3 separate regions of the Homo sapiens genome follow, and all the other regions are linked to region 2. Evidence: promoter capture Hi-C in 16 types of primary human blood cells and fetal thymus (Javierre and others, 2016). All regions are on one chromosome and are shown on one strand. Each heading gives the region's core, a stretch centred on a gene start or on the middle of the fragment in contact. The rest is flanking DNA. Distances are from core to core; before and after follow the strand shown. Region 1 overlaps ATP2B4 (ATPase plasma membrane Ca2+ transporting 4). Region 2 holds the start of TMEM183A (transmembrane protein 183A). Region 3 overlaps UBE2T (ubiquitin conjugating enzyme E2 T).

The links. The method cuts DNA at HindIII sites, captures the fragments that hold promoters and counts their contacts. A CHiCAGO score of 5 or more calls a contact.
Region 1: a contact is called between a fragment that was not itself captured here and the fragment with the promoter of TMEM183A in region 2, in 1 of 17 cell types (fetal thymus). The highest score is 6.0, in fetal thymus.
Region 3: a fragment that was not itself captured here is called in contact with the fragment with the promoter of TMEM183A in region 2 in 2 of 17 cell types (total CD8 T cells and naive CD8 T cells); the score reaches 7.3 in total CD8 T cells.

What each region holds. Positions count from the first base shown.
Region 1 is chr1:203,672,090-203,676,373 of GRCh38, reverse strand. All of the region lies in intron 1 of ATP2B4 (ATPase plasma membrane Ca2+ transporting 4), which reads right to left. Among named protein-coding and RNA genes, the nearest start is that of ATP2B4, 47 kb to the right of the region's middle. The HindIII fragment of the contact is 1,144 bases long and covers 1,119-2,262 here.
Region 2 is chr1:203,005,290-203,008,959 of GRCh38, reverse strand. It overlaps TMEM183A (transmembrane protein 183A), which reads right to left and starts at 1,586. Exons shown (of 8, transcript NM_138391.6): 1 at 1,386-1,586; 2 at 1,097-1,186; 3 at 150-317. The coding sequence starts at 1,494. It also overlaps the pseudogene MGAT4FP. RefSeq lists enhancers at 687-1,459, 1,460-2,234, 2,238-2,367, 3,009-3,670, a silencer at 1,278-1,527 and a cis regulatory region at 2,908-3,257. The HindIII fragment of the contact is 953 bases long and covers 1,094-2,046 here.
Region 3 is chr1:202,336,547-202,340,299 of GRCh38, reverse strand. The region is part of intron 1 of UBE2T (ubiquitin conjugating enzyme E2 T); the gene reads left to right. Among named protein-coding and RNA genes, the nearest start is that of UBE2T, 3.5 kb to the left of the region's middle. RefSeq lists enhancers at 2,711-3,234, 3,235-3,753. The HindIII fragment of the contact is 850 bases long and covers 1,341-2,190 here.

The DNA of each region.
Region 1 (4,284 bases), core at 441-2,940, 670 kb before region 2:
ACCCTGGCCACTTCCAATCCCTCAGGTCTGGCAGCCATCCTCATCACAATCCCGGGTTCTTCCTCCCCTCCCCATGTCTGCCCTGCCCTAATTGCTCCTTAAATGCCAACTGGTTTGCAGAAGCAGACTAGAGCACATGCCCTCCTTCAGCCTACTGAGGCCCTTTGGAGGCATGGGAACAAGGTCAGAGGCAGCAGGTGTTGGCTAAAGTTCAGGTGGCGGGTGGGACCACTTGTCATCATCATCCGACAGCCACACCCAAGCCAGGAAGCCAGGTGAGGGCGGGCACACCAAGCCAGGCCTCTGGCCTCACCATGGGATAGTATACCATGGCCTGGTCAGGGAATCTGATGCTAATTTTCAGCTAGCCCCTAGAACTTAGCCTCCTGGGGGTGGGGTACTCCCTTCCTGAAGTTCTGGGTTCTGGTTCATGTCTCCTTTGCTCTTCCCTCTCCCCCCTATAGTCCTTCCAGGTTGCTAGTCTCTGCTTCCAGTCATCTCAGGACAGCCCCCTTTCCCAGAGACCCAAGGAAAGCCCACATCCTTTTAGTTTTTGAGAAAACAGACTTGAGAGGATGTCACTCGCAGGCTCAGTTCTCTCTTTCTGAAGATAGAACGCCACTTCCTGGTTAGGAGGTGGTATCCACGGGCCTCCCTCACTTACTTCCCCCTCTCCAAGTCTGCTACTCTGACAGCACCTTCTTCAATTCCACCAAAAAAGGTAGTACTAGAGTCAAAGCATCTAATCGGAGAAAACGTGTCACTCGTAGCCCCTGGGTCTCAGGAATCCAGAATTCATCCCTCCTCCCCAGAATCACTTGGTGCTTTTTGGTCAAACTACATCTATGCATGCTGTGGACCCAGTCATCTAGTCCTGGCTACATCTTCCAAAGAAATCCTCATCCAGGGCCTGGAGGGGGCATGTGCAAGGATGTTCACTGGAACATTATCTGTGGTGATCTGAGATCCAAAAAATAAAAATAAAATACCTCTCAGTCTTGGAGTGGCTGTGTTGTCTAGGATATGCTGTGCAGTGATAATGGTGGCAAAACTTACCAGTTCTGGTCAGATGCCTTCAGAAGGCAGGGAGAAGGTAGGACCCATAGATGACAAAAGCTTTCTCCAAACAGCGATACCAAGAATTGACCCAAGGTTGACAGCCTGATCCTGATCACCTGGTCTGCTAAGATCCAACCCATGTCACAGGTTTTAAGAACCACCAAGATGAAGACAGAAAGCTCCAGGGCATGGGTAGGGAAACAGTGTGGTGGGAGGAAGCAGGAATGTGCCTGGGAGGGCACGGCTGTCCCCCTGACCCCTGGCCACTGGCTCCATCTTGAAATGGCATCAGTATTATTAAGATGAGGCCAGGCGCAGTGGCTCATGCCTGTAATCCCAGCACTTTGGGAGGCCAAGGTGGGCAGATCACCTGAGGTCAGGAGTTTGAGACCAGCCTGGCCAACATGGCGAAACCCCGTCTCTACTAAAAATATAAAAATTCCATCCTGGCTAACATGGTGAAACCCCGTCTCTACTAAAAATACAAAAAATTAGCCAGGTGTGGTGGCACGTGCCTGTAGTCCCAGCTACTCAGGAGGCTGAGGCAGAAGAGTTGCTTGAACCCGGGAGATGGAGGTTGCAGTGAGCCAAGACTGTGCCATTGCACTCCAGCCTGGGAGACACAGTGAGACCCCATCTCAGAAAAAAAAAAAAAAAAAAAAAAAAAAAAAAAAAAAGCCAGGTGTGGTGTTGCACGCCTGTGATCCCAGCTGCACAGAAGGCTGAGACAGGAGAATCACTTGAACCTTGGAGGCAGAGGTTGCAGTGAGCTGAGATCGTGCCACTGCATTCCAGCCTGGGTAACAGAGTAAAACTCCATCTCAAAAAAAATTATCAAGATGAGAAAGGGCAGTCCCTTAGGCCCAGAGCCTTGGGAAAGCCAACCTCTTTCAAATTGTGTGAGTCACACTGGCCTGGGTCACCTCTGTGTCCTCCAGTGACTCAGAGGATGTATGGGGTGGAGGTAGGGGTGTTCACAGCAAGCTAGAGCTCAAAAAAATGTAGAGGATGAAACAGCAGCGCTCACCATTTCCTTCAGTTGTTTAAGGAGGACAAGAGCCACCTTCAGGTGGAAGTGACAATGCCATCTGGAAGGTCTGTTTAACAAAAGGGGTACTGGCAGCCTCTCCTGACCCCGTTCACTCAGGATAAGGGTTAGCAACGATAACTGCTACTCACTCCTCAGAGCTGCGGCAGGAAGCTTCTAGGCCACAGACAGGACGCAGCCCTCCGGCAGCAGCATTCAAGTATTTCGTATATGCACTCTCTTGGACTACACAGACTGTCTTTCTTGGGGCTGCTGTGGCTTTCCATATTTTGGTTTCAAGGGAACAAAGGGGCTTTTTAGCAGCTGGATCGGATCCTAGGTTATTTTTAGAAACGAATTTCAGCAGAATCATGTCATGCTTATGGAGAGGGGTCATCTCCCTGGGCTACCGGGTCGGGACCTGGTTGTTCCCAGGCCTCAGGATCTGGTGGAGTCCTCAGGACAAGGGGGAAGAAGTTGCCTGGCCACAGACTGAGGAGGCCACATCTCATCCACCAAAAGGGAGCACCAGGGGCAGCTGCTCTGTCCCCAGACGCTCAGCAGGAGAGGACTTAAAACAACATTCCTGTGTGGCCCAGATACTAGTCAGCATGTCCCATACTGGTCATCAGGCCTGGCTGCTCCCATTCCCTTTCTCCACTCTGACAGTCTCACCTGTACAGAGTACAGAGAACCTCCCATCCCCGCTTTACCTATTCCAGCCTTCTCTGGGCTTATTTCCTGGAAGTCACAGGCAAATCAGCGAGGGCTCCATGCTGAAAAGACAGTGCTTATTAAAAAAGGTGGCCAGGAATGATCGCTAATAACCTGCCACCCCTCTGCGCCTGTTTTATTCTTCCTTGTTCACATATTGCACAGACAGGATCCATTCAGTCAGCCTAGGCCTTTGGAAAGCGAACTGATCATGCTTCCTTGCACTTGAGTAATGTTTTAGAGCTGTGGTTCTCAAACCCAGAGTGAGCACTAGGATCCTCTGGAGAACTGGGGCAAACCTATTGGGCCCCTCCCTGCCAACTCCTGAGTTTCTGGTGCACAAGAACGGAGGTGGGGCCTGGGAAGGTGCACTCCTAACAAGTTCCTTAACAGGGTGAGCTGATGCATCTGGTCTGGGGACCACACTTTGAAAATGTTGCGAGGTTCCAAAGCATTCCCATGAACCCCTTCAGCTCCAGGCTGACATGGGAAGGCACAGGAAGATCTTGCCATGTGTCTCCTTCACTCTTCCCTCTCCCTCTGCTAGTCCTTCCAGGTTGCTGATCTCTGCTTCCATTTATCTCTGGGCAGCCCCCTTTCCCAGACAGAGCCCTGAAAAAGCCCACATTTTTTTAGTCTTTGAGAAAACAGACTTGAGAGGATGTCACTCAACAGGCTACAACAGAAGCCAAGGTCTATTCGAAAAGTTAAAACAAGCCACCTCGTGAGGTTCAGAGGGACACCCAGGCCCCTTTCAGGTTCCAGTGGAGCAAATCCCCTCCCAGCCCTGTCTTCTATCTCCACAGGAGATGAGCGATGCTGGGGCCCATACACAGATGAGGGGAAAACAAAAACAAAAGACATTCGCTGCTCACTTTGGCTCCCAAAACATTACTGCCCCTGGTTGCCTCTGGAACCCAGGCTGCCGTTCCCCTGCCATCCCCCACGGTTCCAGAAGAAGCACCAGGCTCACCGCCTCCATAACACCTCTCAGGGAGCGCCTGCCCACTGCTCCGAGGCCAGGGCGGCCAGCAGCAGCTGCTGGTTTCCAGGCCAGTTGACAAGCTGTTATAAACAGTCGCTTTAGGTTGCTATGGCAAAGCGAGTGTGCAGCCCAGCGACGGTAAAGCTATTTATGTGCCTGTAATGACAGAGTGGTCTGTTTTTTATTATTTTACTTTTAAAGTTTTCTTTTCCCAACCCCCTAAATCAGCTTTAAAAAAAAAAAAAAAAAAAAAAAAAAAAAAAAGAGCCACCGCAACTTACTCAGGAACAAAAACAGGATAGCCAGAAAATAGAGCCTATGACTTGAGCCAGGAAGGGGAAGATGGAAGCAAGGAGTGTGGGTGAGCTCCTTTCCAAAAGGGAAGGTGCGGCCTCTGGCCATGCAGGCCTCTAATCACTTAGGAACCAAAGCCCTGCCTCTGGCTCAGCTCCTCAAGGAGAAACGCCAAACCCCAGGGTCTTCTCACCTCCCTGCACTT
Region 2 (3,670 bases), core at 337-2,836:
CACTACCAAGGTTCTTAGGGAGAGCCAAGTTTTCTTTAAACTCTCCTGGTATCACGTCTTATATCTCCTCCTGTGCTACTGGGAAAGTAACATCTTCAATTTGTCACCACAGGCAGGTCTAATAAACCAAAAGAGAACAAGCTCCATACCTTTGTGTCTCTTGCTTTTCTTTTTTCTGGAGACAGTTCTCTCATGGATGCTTTCCTCCTGGGCATCCATCTCATCACTGCTGTCGATGATGTCACAGGGCTCACCAGCCCCAGAAAGAGCTTCCTCTGCAGGAACCTGAGAGGCTTCCAAGCCACAAAGAGATTTTACTAGAAGAAAATAAAAGGAGAATGAGATGGCACACAGCTCCACCCAGAAATACAAACAACTTAGCCAAGGTATCAGCATCCATTCAGGAAAGGGGGGAAAAAAAACATCGTTGAGAGAGAAAGGTGAGAATCTGTCACCAAAAAAAATAAAGATTTTAGTATTTTAAATACAAAAAAAAAAAAAAAAAAGGAAAGCAATGGGCAAACTGACTCCAAAGTTGCAGAAACTCCTTTTTTCAGCCCTGAAGAAAAAAGGTGTGTACAATTTTTCCACTATAAACCCTGCAGGATAAAAGCTGATTTGTATTCTCATAAGGTCTACAGAGAAATGTTTGAGACAAATTGAATCCAATTTAATCCTGGTCCTGAGCTGGAGGCAGTAGGTGTCATAAAACACAAGTCTCAGACCCATGAGTAAACAGACTGAAAGCAAGAGAAACACCAGAAAAGGAAAAGAACACTCCAAGGTTATTAAACAAGGAAGCAAACTGCAGAGTAAAACATGTGAACTACAGCAAAGAGATTAATAACCAAGAAGAATGCAGTGGAAACTAAAAAGTATGCAAACATGTTTTTAAATGCAAAGAAAGAAAGAAAATATTTCTGCTACAGAAACTGCTACTCTTGACTAATCCTCCTCCACCCCAATATGTAAGTTAACACTAACGAAAGCAAACACGGTTACAGGAAGACGACTAAAGGACTGCAAGAAAAACAGAAATAAAATACCTAGTTCTGTCTTCGCGGCATGAGTCTTTAAAGGCTCGCGCAAAGCTTACCTTCCTGCTGAACAGCGTTGGCTACGGCTTTCTTGACTCGTCCAGACCTCACGACCGCCGGATCCGAGTTGGCGTAATCCGCCACGGTCACTGCAACACAGCACCAACCCTCAAGGAAGAGGCCTTCTCTCGTCAGCGTCTTCCCCGCCAACACCTCCTCCTCGCTGCAGGCCCCCGGACCGAGCCGCCCTCCAGCCGCGGGCACGCGAGCGCTCACCTCGGCACGGTCCAGCCCCCTCCCAGCCGCCAGCCCCCAAAATGTTTCAGCGCCCCTGCCCCCCTCGCCCACCTCGGCCGGAGCAGGCGTCGTGGGCCCGGAACTTGAGTCGCTTTCCTCTCTTGGGCATGGCGACCGTATCGGGGCGAGGCCTGCCTAGCGGGCCGGGCCCCCGGGCCATGTCTCCGGCCGGAGAGCCGGCCCCGGGAGCCGCAAGCCAGCTCCGCCCGGCTCCGCGGCCATCCCACACCGGAGGCCGCTAACTCTCGCGAGAACATAGGTCCGGGTTCCGAGTCGCGTTGTCGGACGACGCCTCTCCACGCGAACCAATCATCGCCAGGTGCAAGGATACGTCATCATCCGGCACCCGCGAATCAAGCTGGGTCCGGGTTCCAGGTGGAGAGAGAGCTGTTGTACTGGGTGGTGTCGCGTATCGCCGTACCTCGTGTGAGATGAATGGTGTCTCAGAACCATAGCCCACACCTGTGTTGATTAGAATTGAGAGTTTACATCCTGGTCTCCGGGATTCTTCTTAGTAACTCCTCTGTCCACACTCCAGGTCCACTTCAGCACCAAAATGCATATACACTGTCATCTTCGTGCTCTATCTCGGACCACAGAGACTGAGCGCCTGCTAGTCTAACATAGGTCTGTAAGAGTCTTCACTCTATTTTACGAAAGCTATAAATAAATTTCTGAATTCTCAAAATAGGAGAAGGAGTTCTTAAAAGCTTCCAATCGGCCGGGCGCGGTGGCTCACGCCCCTAATCCCAGTACTTTGGAAGGCCGAGGCGGGCGGATCACGAGGTCAGGAGATCGAGACCATCCTGGCTAACACGGTGAAACCCCGTCTCTACTAAAAATACAAAATATTAGCCGGGCGTGGTGGCGGGCGCCTGTAGTCCCAGCTACTCGGGAGGCTGAGGCGGAAGAATGGCATGAACCCGGGAGGCGGAGCTTGCAGTGAGCTGAGATCGGGTCACTGCACTCCAGCCTGGGCGACAGAGCAAGACTCCGTCTCAAAAAAAAAAAAGTTTCCAATCTATCACCATATAAGGTTAGCCGAGAGAAAGGACGAAAGAGAGACCCAAGGTCAGCCGAGGAAGTTTATTAACCTGACGGCTGCTCCACCACAGACAGAGGAGGCACCCCTGAGCTTACAAAATGAGGGGTTTATATGGGGGAGAGAGACCCTGGGGTTGTTTGCTGGTTAATTTTGCCACATATTAGCTTGTGACGTTTATTACAGGAGGGTGTAGGTAAAGTTTGTTTATGCTTCCCATCACCTTCCCCTGTGCGGTCCGGATGATTTGTAATTGGGGTTTGTTTATTGCAGCAAGGTCTGATAAGTGAAGTCTGCTGGCTTCATAAGGACTTAGAAGTGTAAAGAGGCTTGGGGGAAGGAGAAGAGTTGCAGAGCATTAGGGGGAGGAGTGAGCAGCACGGAGAGGTTTGGGGGAAGTGTCGGCAGTACCAAGAAGCTTTTTGGGGCAGTTTGTTCCTAACACACCATACCTCCAAAAAACTACTAGAAGCATCCATGAAAAACTATCGCAGAGGCAGGAAGGTCACTTGAGTCCAGGAGGTCAAGGCTGCAGTGGGCCATGATTGCGCCACTGCACTCCAGCCTGGGCTACAGAGCGATACCCTGCCTCAAAAAAAAAAAAAGGAGAAAAAGAAAAAATAACGTCTTTCCTTTGTATTGAGACAGAAGCGAGTCACTGAGTGAAGATTACAGAACTGTAAGGGAGCAGGACCCTGGGCTAGTATTATCAGGCCTCTGAGCCCAAGCCACGCCACCGCATCCCTGGTGACTTGCACGTGTACGCCCAGATGGCCTGAAGTAACTGAAGAATCACAAAAGTGAAAATGCCCTGCCCCGCCTTAACTGATGACATTCCACCACAAAAGAAGTGAAAATGGCCAGTCCTTCCTTAAGTGATGACATTACCTTGTGAAAGTCCTTTTCCTGGCTCAAAAAGCTCCCCCACTGAGCACCTTGCGACCCCCACTCCTGCCCACCAGAGAACAAATCCCCTTTGACTGCAATTTTCCTTTATCTACCCAAATCCTATAAAACGGCCCCACCCTTATCTCCCTTCACTGACTCTCTTTTCCGACTCAGCCCGCCTGCACCCAGGTGATTAAGAGCTTTATTGCTCACACAAAGCCTGTTTGGTGGTCTCTTCACACAGACGCGCATGAAAAGTAAATAAATAAATAAATTAAAAAAAAAAGAAAAGTATCACCGCGACACATAAGAAGTTATTTGGTTTCCTAAGTTATTCTCCTTTATCCTTCTAACTTCCTTGCAGCTCCTAAAAGGTGATAATCCCTGGCTTGGGAAACTTAGGACC
Region 3 (3,753 bases), core at 516-3,015, 670 kb after region 2:
TCAAATGACCCACCCACCTTGGCCTACCAAAGTGCTGGGATTACAGGTGTGAGCCACCATGCCTGGCCAGTTTTGTTTTGTTTTGTTTTTGAGACAGAGTCTTGCTCTGTCGCCCAGGCTGGAGTACAGTGGCGCGATCTCAGCCCACTGTAACCTCCACCTTCTGAGTTCAAGCCTTTCTCCTGCCTCAGCCTCCTGAGTAGCTGGGATTACAGGCCTCCACCCCCGCAGCTGGCTAATTTTTATATTTTTAGTAGAGAGGGGATTTCCCCATGTTGGCCAGGCTGGTCTGGAACTCCCGATCTCAAGTGATCCACCTGCCTCAGCCTCCCAAAGTGCTGGGATTACAGGCGTGAGCCACTGTGCCAGGCCTCACAAGCTGGTCTTGAACCTCTGCATGTCCTCCCATATACTTTATTTATTTTAGAGATGGGGTTCTCCTTTGTTGCACAGGCTGGTCTTGAACCCCTGGCCTCAAGTGATCCTTCTGCCTTGATCTCCCAAAGTGCTGCAATTACAGGTGTGAGCCACCGTGCCCAGCCCCACCCCCATATACTTTGAATTATTTCTTGATTACTTATAATACCTAATAAAATGCTAAGTAAATTGTTGTTACACTGTATTGTTTAGGGAATAATGACAAGAAAAAATGTATAGTACGTGTTTGGACGAAGATGTTTTTTTTTTTTTTTTTTTTTTTGAGACAGAGTCCTAATCTATCGCCCAGGCTGGGGTGCAGTGGCGTGATCTTGAAGTACAAAACACTTCCAGCAAAAAATCTTTATTTTTAAGAAAAAAGTATTTTTTCTCATTTTCTATTTTTGTCATAAATTTTTATTCTTTCCAGTGGAACCAAAACTTGAACTTCCTTTTGGTTGATACATGCCCAGCAAGACTGATCAAAGAAAAGATGGCACAGATAAACAGTGTTAGAAATGAAAATGGAAACATAACCATAGATAACTACAGATTAAAAAGATAAAACATTATACAAATAAATTGAAAATTGCATGTAATAGATAAATTTGTGGAAAAATTTAACTTGCCAAAATTGATGCAAGAATAAATAACTTGAATAAGATTCAAGTAAATTGGATTTGTAGGTTAAAATTTTCTCAAAATGAAAACACCAGGATCAGATGGAGTTATTCCAGACAACCTAGTAACAAATTATCTCTTGGACTAATCCACAATATGTTAAAAAAAAAAAAAAAAAAAAAAAGGAGGCAATACTCCCTAACTCATTTTAGGAGGCTAGCATAACCTTGATAGCTAATAAAGACAAAATTAGAAAGGACAGTTATAGGCCAGTCTTACTGATTAGCATAGTGTTAAAAGCTTTCCCTTTAAGGTTAGAAATCTGACAAGAATGCCAACTATCAGCTTTTCTTTCTTTCTTTTTTCTTTTTTTTTTTTGGCTGTTGTTTAGACAGGGTCTCACTCTGCCTCCCAGGCTGGAGTGCAGTGGCACAATCATGGCTCACTACAGCCTCAGTCTCCCCGGGCTCAGGTCATCCTCCCACCTTAGCCTCCTGAGTAGCTGGGATTACAGGCTCATGCCAGCATGCTTGGCCCAGCTATCAGCTTTTTCATTTAACATTGTACTAGAAGTTACTGTCAGAATAGAAGGCAGGAAAAGAATTAGAAGGGAAGAAATAAACTTGATTATATGTGGATGACATGATTGGCAGTGTGGAATTACCATTCCCAGACTGCTCCCCACCCCAAATAGATTCATCATTAGCATTACTAAGGCTTTGGTTAAAAATCAGTTAGATTGGCTGGGCGAGGTGGCTCATGCCTGTAATCCCAGCACTTTGAGAGGCTGAGATGGGTGGATTACCTGAGGTCCGTGGTTCGAGACCAGCCTCACTAACATGGAGAAACCCTGTCTTTACTAAAAAAATACAATATTACCTGGGCCTAATGGTGCATGCCTGTAACGCCAGCTACTCAGGAGGCTGAGACAGGAGAATCGCTTGAACCCAGGAGGTGGAGATTGCGGTGAGCCAAGAGCACACCATTGCACTCCAGCCTGGGCAACAAGAGCAAAACTCCATCTCAAAAAAATAAAAAAAAATCAATTAGATTTACATGTATCAGTAAGAAATGGGTAGAAAATAGTGTTTTTGAAAAGATAGCAAAAATATAAATACTTAGAAATCAGTCTAACAAAAATTAGATAAAGCTTTATAGAGAAAATTATAAAACCTTTGGAAAGCATCAAAAAAAAGACTGAAACAGCGTGTTCATGGATCTTAGGATTCAATATCATAAAGATATCAGTTATCTCCAAATTGATCTATAGCATCAATAAAATTACAATCCAAACCACAGAACCCTGTTATGATTTGGATTATAATTTCAGATATACATATTTATGTATATATTTATGGACTTATGAACTGATTCTCAAATTTATATGGAAGAGCAAAGAGTCAAGAATAATCAAGTCATTCCTGAAGAAAAAGACCAGGTGGATAAGCTATAGTAAAACATCACATTGTACACCTTAAATATATACAATTTGTATTTGCCAGTTATACCTCAGTAAAGCTGGGAAAAAATTTAAATAATAAAAAATGAATAAGCTATAGTAATTCAAACAGTGGAGTATTGTCTCAGAAATAATCCACTTGACCAGTGGAACAAATTCAAGAGTCCCAAAACAAATCCACACATATAGAAATTTAATTTATAGTAATATCAGCAGGGAAAGGATGGACTGATTCAGTAAATGATGTTAGAACAATTGACTATTCATATGGGGAAAAACTTTAAATTGGACCCCCACCTCACTCACTATACATAAAATTCAATTCCTAGTGGATTCAATATTTAAATTTGAATAGCAAAATTATAAAATATTTGAAGGCTATGTAGGAATATCTCTACATTTGGGGGTAAGGAAAAATTTAATACACAAAGTATAAATGTAAAGAAAGAGATTTTAAGATTGATTATGTTAAGAGTATGTGTTTATTGAAAGACACCATGTACAACATGGAAAGATAAGCACAAACTGGGGGATATTTGTAACACATTAAAGGATTGGTGTTGGCTGGGCGCGGTGGCTCACGCCTGTAATCCTAGCACTTTGGGAGGCTGAGGTGGGTGGATCACGAGGTCAGGAGTTCAAGACCAGCCTGGCCAAGATGGTGAAACCCCATCTCTACTAAAAATACAAAAAGTAGCCGGGCGTGGTGGCGGGCGTCTGTAATGCCAGCTGCTCGGGAGGCTGAGGCAGAGAATTGCTTGAACCCGGAAGGCTGAGGTTGCAGTGAGCCGAGATCGCACCACTGCACTCCAGCCTGGGCAACAGACCGAGACTCCGTCTAAAAAACAAAAGGGATTAGTGTCCTTTGCTTGGTTAGTAAAGAGAGAACTAGAGTTGAGAAGAGTGTTGGGTGAATATGTGTGTAGGTGTTGGTTTTAGGTGAGAGAGACTTTGAGCATATTTGAACATTGAGGGTAAGAAAGATGGAATAATTGATGGAATGGTATCCCTGAAGATTGGGAGAAGGTGGAATCCATAGCACATGGAGAGAAACTCGGACATTTAACATTTGTTTGTACCTGAGAATGTTGACTATCTCTACCATTCTTGCTCTCACAAAGCATATGTAGACTTCCTCACAACAGCAAATATTTGTCAAATCCCTTACTATGACAGGCATGCTAAGGCTACAATAGTAAGCAAAATCAGACCCAGGCCTGGCCTCATGAGTTTATAATTTATCAGTGGAAACACCC